3 separate regions of the Homo sapiens genome follow, and regions 2 and 3 are each linked to region 1. The links are contacts of gene promoters, found by promoter capture Hi-C in blood cells and fetal thymus (Javierre and others, 2016). All regions are on one chromosome and are shown on one strand. Each heading gives the region's core, a stretch centred on a gene start or on the middle of the fragment in contact. The rest is flanking DNA. Distances are from core to core; before and after follow the strand shown. Region 1 holds the start of TIMM44 (translocase of inner mitochondrial membrane 44). Region 2 overlaps CERS4 (ceramide synthase 4). Region 3 holds the start of HNRNPM (heterogeneous nuclear ribonucleoprotein M).

Evidence for each region. Contacts are between HindIII fragments. The CHiCAGO score rates a contact against its expected background, and 5 or more counts as called.
Region 2: a fragment that was not itself captured here is called in contact with the fragment with the promoter of TIMM44 in region 1 in 2 of 17 cell types (endothelial precursors and erythroblasts); the score reaches 6.2 in endothelial precursors.
Region 3: the fragment with the promoter of HNRNPM here is called in contact with the fragment with the promoter of TIMM44 in region 1 in 5 of 17 cell types (naive CD4 T cells, fetal thymus, non-activated CD4 T cells and 2 more); the score reaches 6.8 in naive CD4 T cells.

What each region holds. Positions count from the first base shown.
Region 1 is chr19:7,942,226-7,946,001 of GRCh38, forward strand. It overlaps TIMM44 (translocase of inner mitochondrial membrane 44), which reads right to left and starts at 1,441. Exons shown (of 13, transcript NM_006351.4): 1 at 1,382-1,441. The coding sequence starts at 1,426. RefSeq lists enhancers at 462-1,005, 1,006-1,548, 1,175-1,544, 1,549-2,092, 2,093-2,635 and a silencer at 1,575-1,644. The HindIII fragment of the contact is 5,893 bases long and covers 1,263-3,776 here.
Region 2 is chr19:8,241,857-8,245,242 of GRCh38, forward strand. All of the region lies in intron 2 of CERS4 (ceramide synthase 4), which reads left to right. Among named protein-coding and RNA genes, the nearest start is that of CERS4, 34 kb to the left of the region's middle. The HindIII fragment of the contact is 4,736 bases long and covers 1-3,386 here.
Region 3 is chr19:8,443,175-8,446,813 of GRCh38, forward strand. HNRNPM (heterogeneous nuclear ribonucleoprotein M) reads left to right here and starts at 1,801. Exons shown (of 16, transcript NM_005968.5): 1 at 1,801-1,937. The coding sequence starts at 1,825. RefSeq lists silencers at 1,560-1,839, 2,080-2,309. The HindIII fragment of the contact is 1,747 bases long and covers 1,443-3,189 here.

The sequences.
Region 1 (3,776 bases), core at 191-2,690:
AGTCCCACACACCTGTAGTATTGCTTAAACCCGGGAGGTGGAGGGTGCAGTGAGCCGAGATCTTGCCTTAAGTTCTGTGCAGGCACTGAGCTGGTGGCTCATGCCTGTAATCCCGATACTTTGGGAGGCTGAGGCGGAAGGATCGTTTGAGCTCAGGAGTTTGAGACCAGCCTGGGCAACATAGCTAGACCCTGCCTCCATAAAAAATTGGGGGAAAAAAAAAAAGCTCTGTGCAGGTCCTGTTCAGCTCGGCACCCTGTCACCCAGCACAGAACCTGGCGTGTTGATGTCAAAAGACCAGGTACAACTTCTCCACCATTTCCACATTTCCTGGGCCGTTTTTCTCTCTGTTCTCTGCCTCCTACCTCTGAGAACCCTATGCAACATCCCAAACTTACACAGGTGCCTACTATCTCCTGTATTTACTTGAGGATAACTTTTTTTTTTTTTTTTGAGACGGAGTCTCCCTCTGTTGCCCAGGCTGGAGTAAAGTGGCAGGATCTCGGCTCACTGCAATCTCCGCCTGCCGGGTTCAAGTGATTCTCCTGCCTCAGCCTCCCAAGTAGTTGGGATTACAGGAGCGCGCCACCATGCCCGGCTAATTTTTTTGTATTTTTAGTACAGATGGGGTTTTAGTAGAGATGGGATTTCACCATGTGGGCCAGTGGATCTCGAACTCCTGACCTCAGGTGATCCACCTGAGGCTGAGGCAGGAGAATCGCTTGAACCCGGAGGCAGAAGGAGGCAGAAGTTGCAGTGAGCCGAGATCGCGCCATTGCACTCCAGACTGGGCGACAAGAGCGAAACTCTGTCTCAAAAAAAAAAAAAAAAGAGAAAAAAGAAAAAACGAAGAGCACGAGCAATATGAAGTACTACTTTCTGAGTGCGCCTTACACGTCTTGACTGCCACTGCCCTGTGGACCCAAGAGCCTGCTAGGGCGCGAACCACCTCTCGCACATCCACAATGAACGTTAGAAGAAACGAGACAAGAAATGCTCTCGGTAGAGAACTTGGCATTTAACCGCGAGCTGTGAATTTCACGTTTTTTTGCCTTCCCCTCTACTTTTTTCCACGGGACGCCGCCGCCCCGGCTACCATTCTCTCTCCTGTATACGTGGAGTCTGATCAGAGGGCGAAGGGTGATCAGCTCCCTCCCAGGTCCCGCGCATCGCCGCCCCCTGCCCGGTAAGCTCGGTCCCCGCCCTCAGGCCACGCTCTGTGCCCCCTGTCCTGGCCTCTGCTACCCAAAGATCTAACCCCAAGCTTTCTAAGGAGCCCAAGCAAGGGTCGCGAAGGCCAAGGGTCTGAGAAGAAAGCCTTGGTGGCCGAAGGCCCAGAAGACCCCTAAGCTCGCCCTGCCAGCGCCGCACCGCCGCTCACCCGTGGACAGCGGCACCAGCCACTCCGCAGGGCCGCCGCCGCCATGTTGGAGAATCGTGTGACCTTCTCGCGGCGCGGCCCGGTTGCGTCATCCGCCGCTTCGGCCTAGAGCCGCGCAAGCCTGAGAAAAGCCGCTCCAGGAGCGGGGTTTCGGGTAGGGAGAGCCCTCCGATTGGGTCCGTCATAGGGCGGGGCATTAAAAGGGTAGGGAATGCCTAGAGAGCTTGACCTCTGATAGGGCAGTGTTTTGGAAGGACGGGGCCCGTGACTGGATGTGGCCCGGGGGAGGGCACTCCTGGGAGGGTCAGATCTGTGATTGGGCGCGACTACGAGGGGGCGGAGCCCAGGGGCGTGTATTCCGTCACTTGCGGTGATTCGGCTACAGAACGCGCCGGGCGCTGGTGGCAGGTGGTACAGGCACGTGGATCCACCGACCACAAGGACGGATTCGATTGGATTCTGATTGACCGGCGGACCAGCTCCAGAGTAATTGTCTATGGCTGCCCCTGCAATGACTGATTGATTGACAATGGCTGAGAGACCAGCAAGTGAGTCGCTCCGAGAAAGCGAAGGAGCCCACTCTTGTGCGGCGCTTTGGGAAGACGCCTGTTGGTTTTGACCCCGAATAAGAAGAGGAAGCTGAGAGCGGGCTGACTGTGGTCCAGTCCTACTTCGATTCAGTGTGAACTGACACTCTGATCTGAAGACGCTCAGGCCTTTGTCATTTCAGCACCCCAGATGCTATTTTCCATTCGAAGAATGCCGCCACCAGGTGGCGGTATTTTAACATGGCCATGCAATCCGGGTATGAGGAGGAGGGTTGGTCCCCTGGGAGAGCTAATGTATGTTGCTGTTGCTGTTTGTCTTATTGGATCCTTTTTTTTTTTTATAGAGCCAGAGGCTTGCTCTGTCACCCAGGCTAGAGTGCAGTGTCGTAATCTAGCTCACTGCAGCCTCCAATTCCCAAGCTCAAGCGATCCTCCTGCCTCAGCCTCTGAGTCACTGGGATTACAGGCGTGAGCTACCGCACCCGGTCTTTTTGCATTACTAACCTGTGATATGGGTTTATGGGACTTCATTATTTCAAAGGGAGGCAGCTTGGCCCCGGAGAGCATGCATTCCTGGCTTCTGCGATGGATAGACTTGTGTTCTCCATCTCAGGAGCTCCCCCTCAAGGTGGGGGTAAGAGATGAGGGCTTCCACTCTGGCTTTGTTCGAGATGTCTTGATGCCAAGAGGAGCAAACTAGTTAAGCGGTTGGTGTACACAGGTGTGTTGCTAAGAATAAGGTCTGGGCTAGAAATATGGATTCTTAGTTGTGGTTGAAAGTACGGAGTTTGGCCGGGCGCGGTGGCTCATGCCTATAATCCCAGCACTTTGGGACACTGAGGCGGGAGGATCTCTCCAGCCCAAGAGTTTGAGACCAGCCTGGGCAACATAGTGAAGACCTCTTCTTTACAACAAATACAAAACATTAGCTTGGCGTGGTAGCATGTGCTTGTAGTCCCAGCTACTCAGGAGGCTGAGATGGGAGGATCGTTGAGGCCCGGGAAGTTAAGGCTGTAGTGAGCCGTGATCGTGCCACTACACTACACTACACTACACTACACTACCTGGGCAACAGAGAGAGACCTTGTGTCAAAAAAAAAGAAGAAGAAAGAAAGAGAGAGAGAGAAAGGAAAGAAAGAAAACTACAGCATTGGACACTCAGAGGCAGTGTGTCATATAAGCATGTCAAAGACCCAAAGATAAAGTGGAGATAGAAGACTCCTTTAAGCCAGGATCCGTGGCTCAGTCCTATTATCCCAGCAACTCAGGAGCCTGAGGCAGGAGCATCATTTGAGCCCAGGAGTTACAGACCAGTCTGGGCAACATAACGAGACCCTATCTCTACAAAAATAAAAAAATAAGCCAAGCATGGTGTCTCTCGCCTGGAATTCCAGCTACTTAGGAGGCTGAGGTGGGAGGATCTCTTGAGCCCATTAGTTAGAGGCTGCAGTGAGCTATGATCACCCACTGCACTCCACCCTGGGTGACAGCATGAGACCTCCATCTCTTTTTTTGTTGTTTTGAGACAGAGTCTCACTCTGTCGCCCAGGCTGGAGTGCAGTGGCACGATCTTGGCTCACTGCAAGCTCCGCCTCCCAGGTTCACACCATTCTCCTGCCTTAGCCTCCCGAGTAGCTGGGACTACATGTGCCTGCCACCACACCCAGCTAATTTTTTGTATTTTTAGTAGAGACAGGGTTTCACCATGTTAGCCAGGATGGACTCGATTTCCTGACCTCGTGATCCGCTTGCCTCGGCCTCCCAAAGTGCTGGGATTACAGGCGTGAGCCACCACACCCGGCCTTTTTTTTTTTGAGATGGAGTTTTACTCTTGTTGCGCAGGCTGG
Region 2 (3,386 bases), core at 417-2,916, 300 kb after region 1:
TTTCAGATGGGACAACTGAGGCCCAGGAAGACAGAGGATGACAGGGAACAAACAGAAGAACTGGATCCAAAAGAGAAAAGCTAGAAATTGAGGAACACATCCCTCAGCCTCATTTCCTCCCTTCCCTCAGGAGAAGTTGAGCCTTGCTGGCCTGAGGTGCCTGGTTATAGCCATGCCTGAGCCCCTCCCATATGCCAGACTCTGCCTCAATGCCCCAGGTGCAAGGTCTCTGAGCTGCTTAACCACCCTTCAGGGAGGGCACCTGTCCCACCAACAGGTGACGAAATTGAGGCTCCCAGGGCTTTGAAGCATTGCAGCTAGGACTCCAGCCAGTCTGCTGGGCTCCAGACCCTGTTCTTTTCTCAAACCACAGCATCTTTTATTTATGCTTTAAGAGGGAGAAGAGGGAAGGGACGAGACAGAGACAGGTTGGTGAGGTTAGTGAGAGAGTAGGACCTCTGGGGCCAGACCTCTGCAATCAGGGCATATCAGTCTGAAGCCTCCTTGGAGAGCTCCCTGGTTTAGAAAGTGCATCTGTTCCCCTTTCTGTGCCACTCAGGAAGCAATGGGCATGATTCAGCAGAGGAGAGGAGAGTTTAGAACTGGTTATGCTTCCTTCTCCAACCCTCCCTGCAAAAACACTGGCCAGCTCCTGACATCACAGTAAGACAGGGTTGCGGGAGGGTGCTTTAACAGGATCCAAAGCAGGGCAATTGGGCTGCTTTCAGGAGGAGGTGACAACTGAGCTGGGTTTTGAAGGATGCATAGGAGTTTGCCAAACAGAGAAAGAAAGCGTTTAAGCTCTTCAGGGCAGAGATGTTGCTTGTTTTCCCCACCATTTTGTGTCTTCAGCACCCAAATACTAAATGAGCATTCTAGGCAGAGGCCAGTATTTGTAAAGGCTAGGATGTGTGAAACGATATGGTCTGGTGGGAGCAGAGTATCAGTCAGTAAACTGGTGGGCATTGAAGCTGGGCACATCAGCAGAGGCAAGGCTTGAGATTGTGAGAAGCCATTGCTCCTGTGGTTCTCCCTCATCCCCTACACTCATCATGACTTGAATGTACCAAGGTGTGCAAGGATGCATCCAAGACCCTTGGGTGAGGGGAAAACATGGAGCTGGGGGTCTGGATGCCTGGGCCTTCCTAGGACACCTAGTCCCCTTCCATCTGCACCTTGGGGTCTGTCAGAAAGGTAGCAGGGTCTCTGAGAAAGCTGCACCAGTGACTCAGAAGGCTGAGGTGGGAGGATGGCTTGAACCCAGGAGTTTGAGGCTGCAGTGAGCTATGATCAGGCCAGTGCACTCCAGTCTGGGTGACAAAGTGAGACCCTGTCTCTAAAAAAAAAAAAAAAAAAAAAAAAAAAAATAGGGGATTGCAGATACCCTGCAGTGGTCATGGCTTTGGCTGTGAGAGCTGAGTACAGTTGGGACCAAGAGTGCCAAGCTGGCCATGTGTCCTTGAGCCCCCACGGGCACACGGGATCAAGCCAACCTTGTCTGCTAGTGAAGATGATTTCTTTTTCTTGAGAAATCAACCACCTGGGCTGAAGTCCCCACATCCACCCAGCTGTTCATGTGTCTACTCTGTCTGGGATGCCTGGGCCTCGTTGTAGGTCTAGACTAGCTGCTATCCCACACCCTTGACTGCTTGTTGGGTCACTGACTTCTAGTGCCCCTCCCCAACCAGAGTATCCAATGCTAGCAACAGCTTCTAATACTTCACTGATGCCTAAATGTCAGTTGCCCCATAGCATGGTACTTAGCCTGCCCCTTCATGTGCAGTCTCTTCCTTTTTTTTTTTTTTCCCCCAAAACAGGGTCTTGTTGACCCCTTGCTGATAGATAGAGGATTCCATCCATCTTCATGGATTTCAACAGCAGCCACTCACTGACAAGTCCTACCCAGGCCCCACCCACCCCAAGCCTGTGCCCCAAACCTGAGTAGCTCCTGCCTCCTCCACACGCCCACGGGAACATTTTAGCTGCCCTCCCCCACACCCACAATTTGTGTTGTCTGACACTTAGCCTGACTCCTGTCCTGAAATCAGCTCATCCATTCTGGTTCATCCAGTTCTTCAGACTGGAAGGCTGACAGCTTCAGTGGCCAAGTGGGGTGAGGCTGAAGATGGAATTAAGGTTGTTAATCAGCTGAGCTTGAGATGGGAGATCATCTGGGTGAACCCAGTGTCATCACAAGGGTCTTAAAATGAAGAAGACGGAGGCAGGAGAGACACTGTCAGAATGACAAGGTGGGAGAAAGACCCAACTAGCCACTGCTGGCTCTGAAGATGGAGGAAGGGACCAGGAGCTGGAGGGTGCAGGCAGCCTCTAAAGCCAGAAAAGGCAGGAAATGGCTGGGTGTGGTGGCTGGAGCCTGTAGTCCCAGCTACTCGGGAGGCTGAGGCAGGAAGATGGCTTGAGCCCAGGAGATCGAGGCTGCAGTGAGCTATGATTGCACCGCTGCATTCCAGCCTGGAAGACAGAGTGAGAGATTGCCTCCCTGCAGAAAATGTAGTCTCTTAGCAATTTTCCAGTATATACTATATTATTAACTAAAATCATCATGATGTACAGATCTCTTGGACTTACTACTGCTGCTAACTGAAATGTCATATCCTTTGACCAATATCTTGCCAATTTCCTCTCCCAACCCTTCTCTTTTCTGGCTCCACTTTGGAAAGCATTTGGCTCTTGGGGGGCCCCACCTCTAAAATGTCTCTGGAATCCCCTTATCTCTACCTTATCTCAACTGGACATGCCAGAGCACCCTCTTCTGGCCTCCAAAATGCTACGCCCTGCATGGCAACCAACACCTGAGAATCCCTGCATTATTCAAAATAGAACCAAGGGCAACGGAACCCTCACATTCTCCTGCTGGGAGTGTAAGATGGTGCAGTCCTGCCTTGGAAAGCAGTTTGCCCACCTTGGCCTCCCAAAGTGCTGGGATTACAGGGGTGAGCCACCACCCCCGGCTGCCCCCTAGGCTGGTCTTGAACTCTTGGCTTTGGCCAGGCGCGGTGGCTCTCACCTGTAATCCCAGCACTTTCGGAGGCCAAGACAGGTGGATCACGAGGTCAGGAGATCTAGACCATCCTGGCTAACATGGTGAAACCCTGTCTCTACTAAAAATACAAAAAATTAGCCGGGCGTAGTGGCGGGCACCTGTAGTCCCAGCTACTCGGGAGGCTGAGCTTGCAGTGAGCTGAGATCGTGCCACTGCACTCCAGGCTGGGCGACCGAGCGAGACTCCATCTCAAAAAAAAAAAAAAAAAAAAAAAACACTCTTGGCTTCAAGCAATTCTCCTGCCTCAGTCTCCCAACGTGCTGGAATTACAGGCATGAGCCACTGCACCTGGGTCTATTTTTTATTTTATTTATATATTTTT
Region 3 (3,639 bases), core at 551-3,050, 500 kb after region 1:
CAGGCGGATCACGAGGTCAGGAGTTCGAGACCAGCCTGACCAATATGATGAAACCTTGTCTCTACTAAAAATACAAAAGTTAGCCGGGCGTGGTGGCATGCACCTGTAATCCCAGCTACTCGGGAGGCTGAGACAGGAGAATCGCTTGAACCCAGGAGGCGGAGGTTGCAGCGAGCCGAGATGGCGCCATTGCACTCCAGTCTGGGCAACAAGAGCGAAACTCCGTCTCAAAAAGATAATCGCTGCATCTTACTGCCCAAGTTGCCACAAGCACACGTAACATCTGATGGTGCCAATTCGACTGTCTGCACTTGGAAAATGGCACATTGGAGGCTGCACAGCACCATAAAACTGATGCCACGAATGCACACAAAAATAAGACCATACAGCATTATGCCTAGTACAGAATACACCCTGAATTCTGTCACAGTTCACTTTATGCAACATTGCAAGAGTCCTCTCGCTCTTTATTATTATTTTTAATTTTTTTGAGATGGGGTCTCACTCTGTGACCAGGCTGGAGTGCAGTGGCCCGATCTTGGCTCACTGCAACCTCCTCCTCCTGGGTTGAAGCGATTCTCCTGCCTCAGGCTCCCCAGTAGCTGGGATTATGGGCGCCTGCCACCACACCCGGCTAATTTTTGTATTTTTAGTAGAGACAGGGTTTCATCATGTTGGCCAGGATGGTCTGATCTCTTGACCTCGTGATCCACCCGCCTTGGCCTCTCAAAGTGGTAGGATTACAGGCGTGAGCTGCCGCGCCCAGCCATTAATTTTTTTTTTAATTTTGTTTTTAACTTTTAGGTTTGGGGGTAAATGTGAAGGTTTGTTAAATAGGTAAACACTTGTCATGGAGGTTTGTTGTACAGATTATTTCATCACCCAGGTATTAAGCCCAGTACTCAATACTTATCTTTTTGTTTTTTGAGATGGAGTCTCAGTCTATCTCCCAGGCTGCGGTGCAGTGGCGTGATCTCGGCTCACTGCAACCTCCGGCTCCTGGGTTCAAGCGATTCTCCTGCTTCAGCCTCCCGAGTAGCTGGGATTACAGGCGCCCGCCACCACGTCCAGCTAATTTTTTTATTTTTAGTAGAGACGCGGTTTCACCATGTTGGCCAGTCTGGTCTCGAACTCCTGACCTCAGGTGATCCGCCGCCTCGGCCTCCCATACCCAAAGTGCTGGGATTACAGGAGTGAGCCATCGCGCCTGGCCCCATTATTAGTGAATTTTAACAGTTTTCCGTTTCTTCTGGACGAACTGTTTGCAATTATAATGCGAATTACGGATAATACTCTGATATTATTCCATGCCGTTCCGTTGTTGCCTACAAAGTTCGCGCTGGAGAACCGCGCAATTGCGTTACAAAAAGAAAAAAATCACACAAAAAGACACAATGTTTTAAGAAAGTTTACGAATCGTGTGCCGGACCGCGGGTTGAACAAGCTTCATCTAAAACTTCCAGGAATCTCTAGACAGGATCATTGCTTCCCCTCTGCTCCAGCTCTGGTTACAGAAAGCTGAGAGTGACTAGGTCTAGGTGTTTGTGTGGGGTGGGGTGGGGAGATGCCTCCTCTATCGGACTCAGAGGACGCGCGCCGGGAACAGCCAGTCGGTGCCTAACGCGAGTGTATCTCGAGAGAGAAGCGATCAACAGCTGCCGGTCTGCGCCTGCGCGCGGCGGGGGCGTGGCCCGGGGCGAGTGGGGCCAAGGAGGCAGCCGGGAGCGGCGGGCGCAGGTGTTACTGGTTGCGTCGGGTCACGTGGGCGCGCAGGCGCAGCGCGGTGCAGCCCGTTCGCTCACACAAAGCCCAGACGCGGAGAAAATGGCGGCAGGGGTCGAAGCGGCGGCGGAGGTGGCGGCGACGGAGATCAAAATGGAGGAAGAGAGCGGCGCGCCCGGCGTGCCGAGCGGCAACGGGGCTCCGGGCCCTAAGGGGTGAGTATCCCACGGTCCTTTGCCACGGGTAAGGGTTCCTCTCCGCGGCCGACGCGGGCGGCGGCTCCGTTAGGTCTGTTGGCGGCCTAGCCCCGGCGCGGCCTCGGCCCCGGCTGTTCCCGTACCGCCTGCTCAGGGTAGCGGCGTCTAGGGCCGTGAGCGGGGAGCCGGGGGAGCCTCCAGAATCGTCCCCTACACCGGGCCTCGAGCCTCGCCACCCTCAGTCCCTCCAGGCCGGGGCCAACCCCGTAGTCGAGGCCTCAGGCCCAGCTGCTGCGCATGGGGGTTGATGGCGCGGGCCCGGACCGGAGAGCCTCCGAGGCCTACCCGACCGCTCCCCGGGAGGGTGACCTCGGGGGCCGGGTTTCAGCCCCCCGTCCCCTCTCCTCCCGGGGTCTGTTTTCTGATCCGTAACGTGGGGGGAGGAGAGAGGGTGCGCGCCCGGGAGGCCTCGCGCGCAGTCAGCCCGAGTCAACGGTAACCGAGCGAGGGAAGCGTCAGGAAGGGCCGCGAAGCCGGGTCGGGGGGCTCCCCTCCTGCCCCGCCCCTTAGTCCCCGCGCGCCGACCGCGCTCCGCGGGAAGTGCCTCCCTCGGAACCGCCCCTCGCCCCACGCTCTGGCCCTGGCTCAAGTCCCTCGCCGTTTCCCGCTCCTCCTCCCCGGGTGCGCCGCAGGTATTAGTGGAGAGATGGGATCTGCTGCTTAGCGTTCACCCTCGGAAGCAGACAGATACGAAGTCGGGGGAGGAATCCCCTTTTTCCCGTGTTTCGGGGAAGCTGTTCTGTCAGGAGGCGGGTTCATTTACTTCCAGACTTCATCAGCTTTTCGAGTCCTGCTTGGGGCTCTTTGACTCCTTGGCTTTTAAAAGTTTCTTTAAAGGAGGAAGCATCGACTTGTGCCCCGGTGAAACTCATTCATTCTGATTACAGACACTTAAGAGAGACAGAGAGGTTTTGGCTCCAAGATCAGCGGCCGGGAAGGAAGGGGAAGCCTGGGTACACATTGAATTTCCCAGACATTTATTTCATTGTGGTAAAATAGACATAACGTAGACTTTGCCATTTTAACCATTTTTTAAGCGTATAATTCAGTGGCATTGAGTATACTGACTCAGTGTGCTGTAACCGTCACTGCTTCATGTCCAGAACTTTTTCATCATCGGAAACAGAAAGTGTAGCTATTAAATACTAACTCCCTCCGTTTTCTTTCCTTTCTGTCTGTGACTTTGCCTTCCTCATATTGTAATGTGTGAAGCTTAGTTTATGGAGATTAAAAGTGAATGCGGTTGAGCACTTATATATTTAATTTTTTTCTTTGAGACAGGGTCTCCCTCTGTTACCCAAGCTGGGATGCAGTGGCACGATCACAGATCACTGCAGCCTCGAACTCCTGGGCTCAATCGATCCTTCCATCTCAGCCTCCTGAGTAGCTGGGATCACAGGCGCGGCACCACCATGCCCGGCTAATTTTTTGAAGAGAGGAGGTCTCCGGGTGTTGCCCAGGCTGGTCTGAAACTCCTGGGTTCAAGCCATCCTCCTGCCTAGGCCTTCCAAAGTGCTGAAGTTACAGGCATGAGCTACTGCGCCCTGCCTAGTTGAGCGCTTAGGTTAAGAACGTTCCCTAAGTGCTAGCTATATTGGTAGATAATAAATCCGGAGAAAATTCCAGATTCTTTCCCTCCTTAAGTAGGGAGAAATAAAAT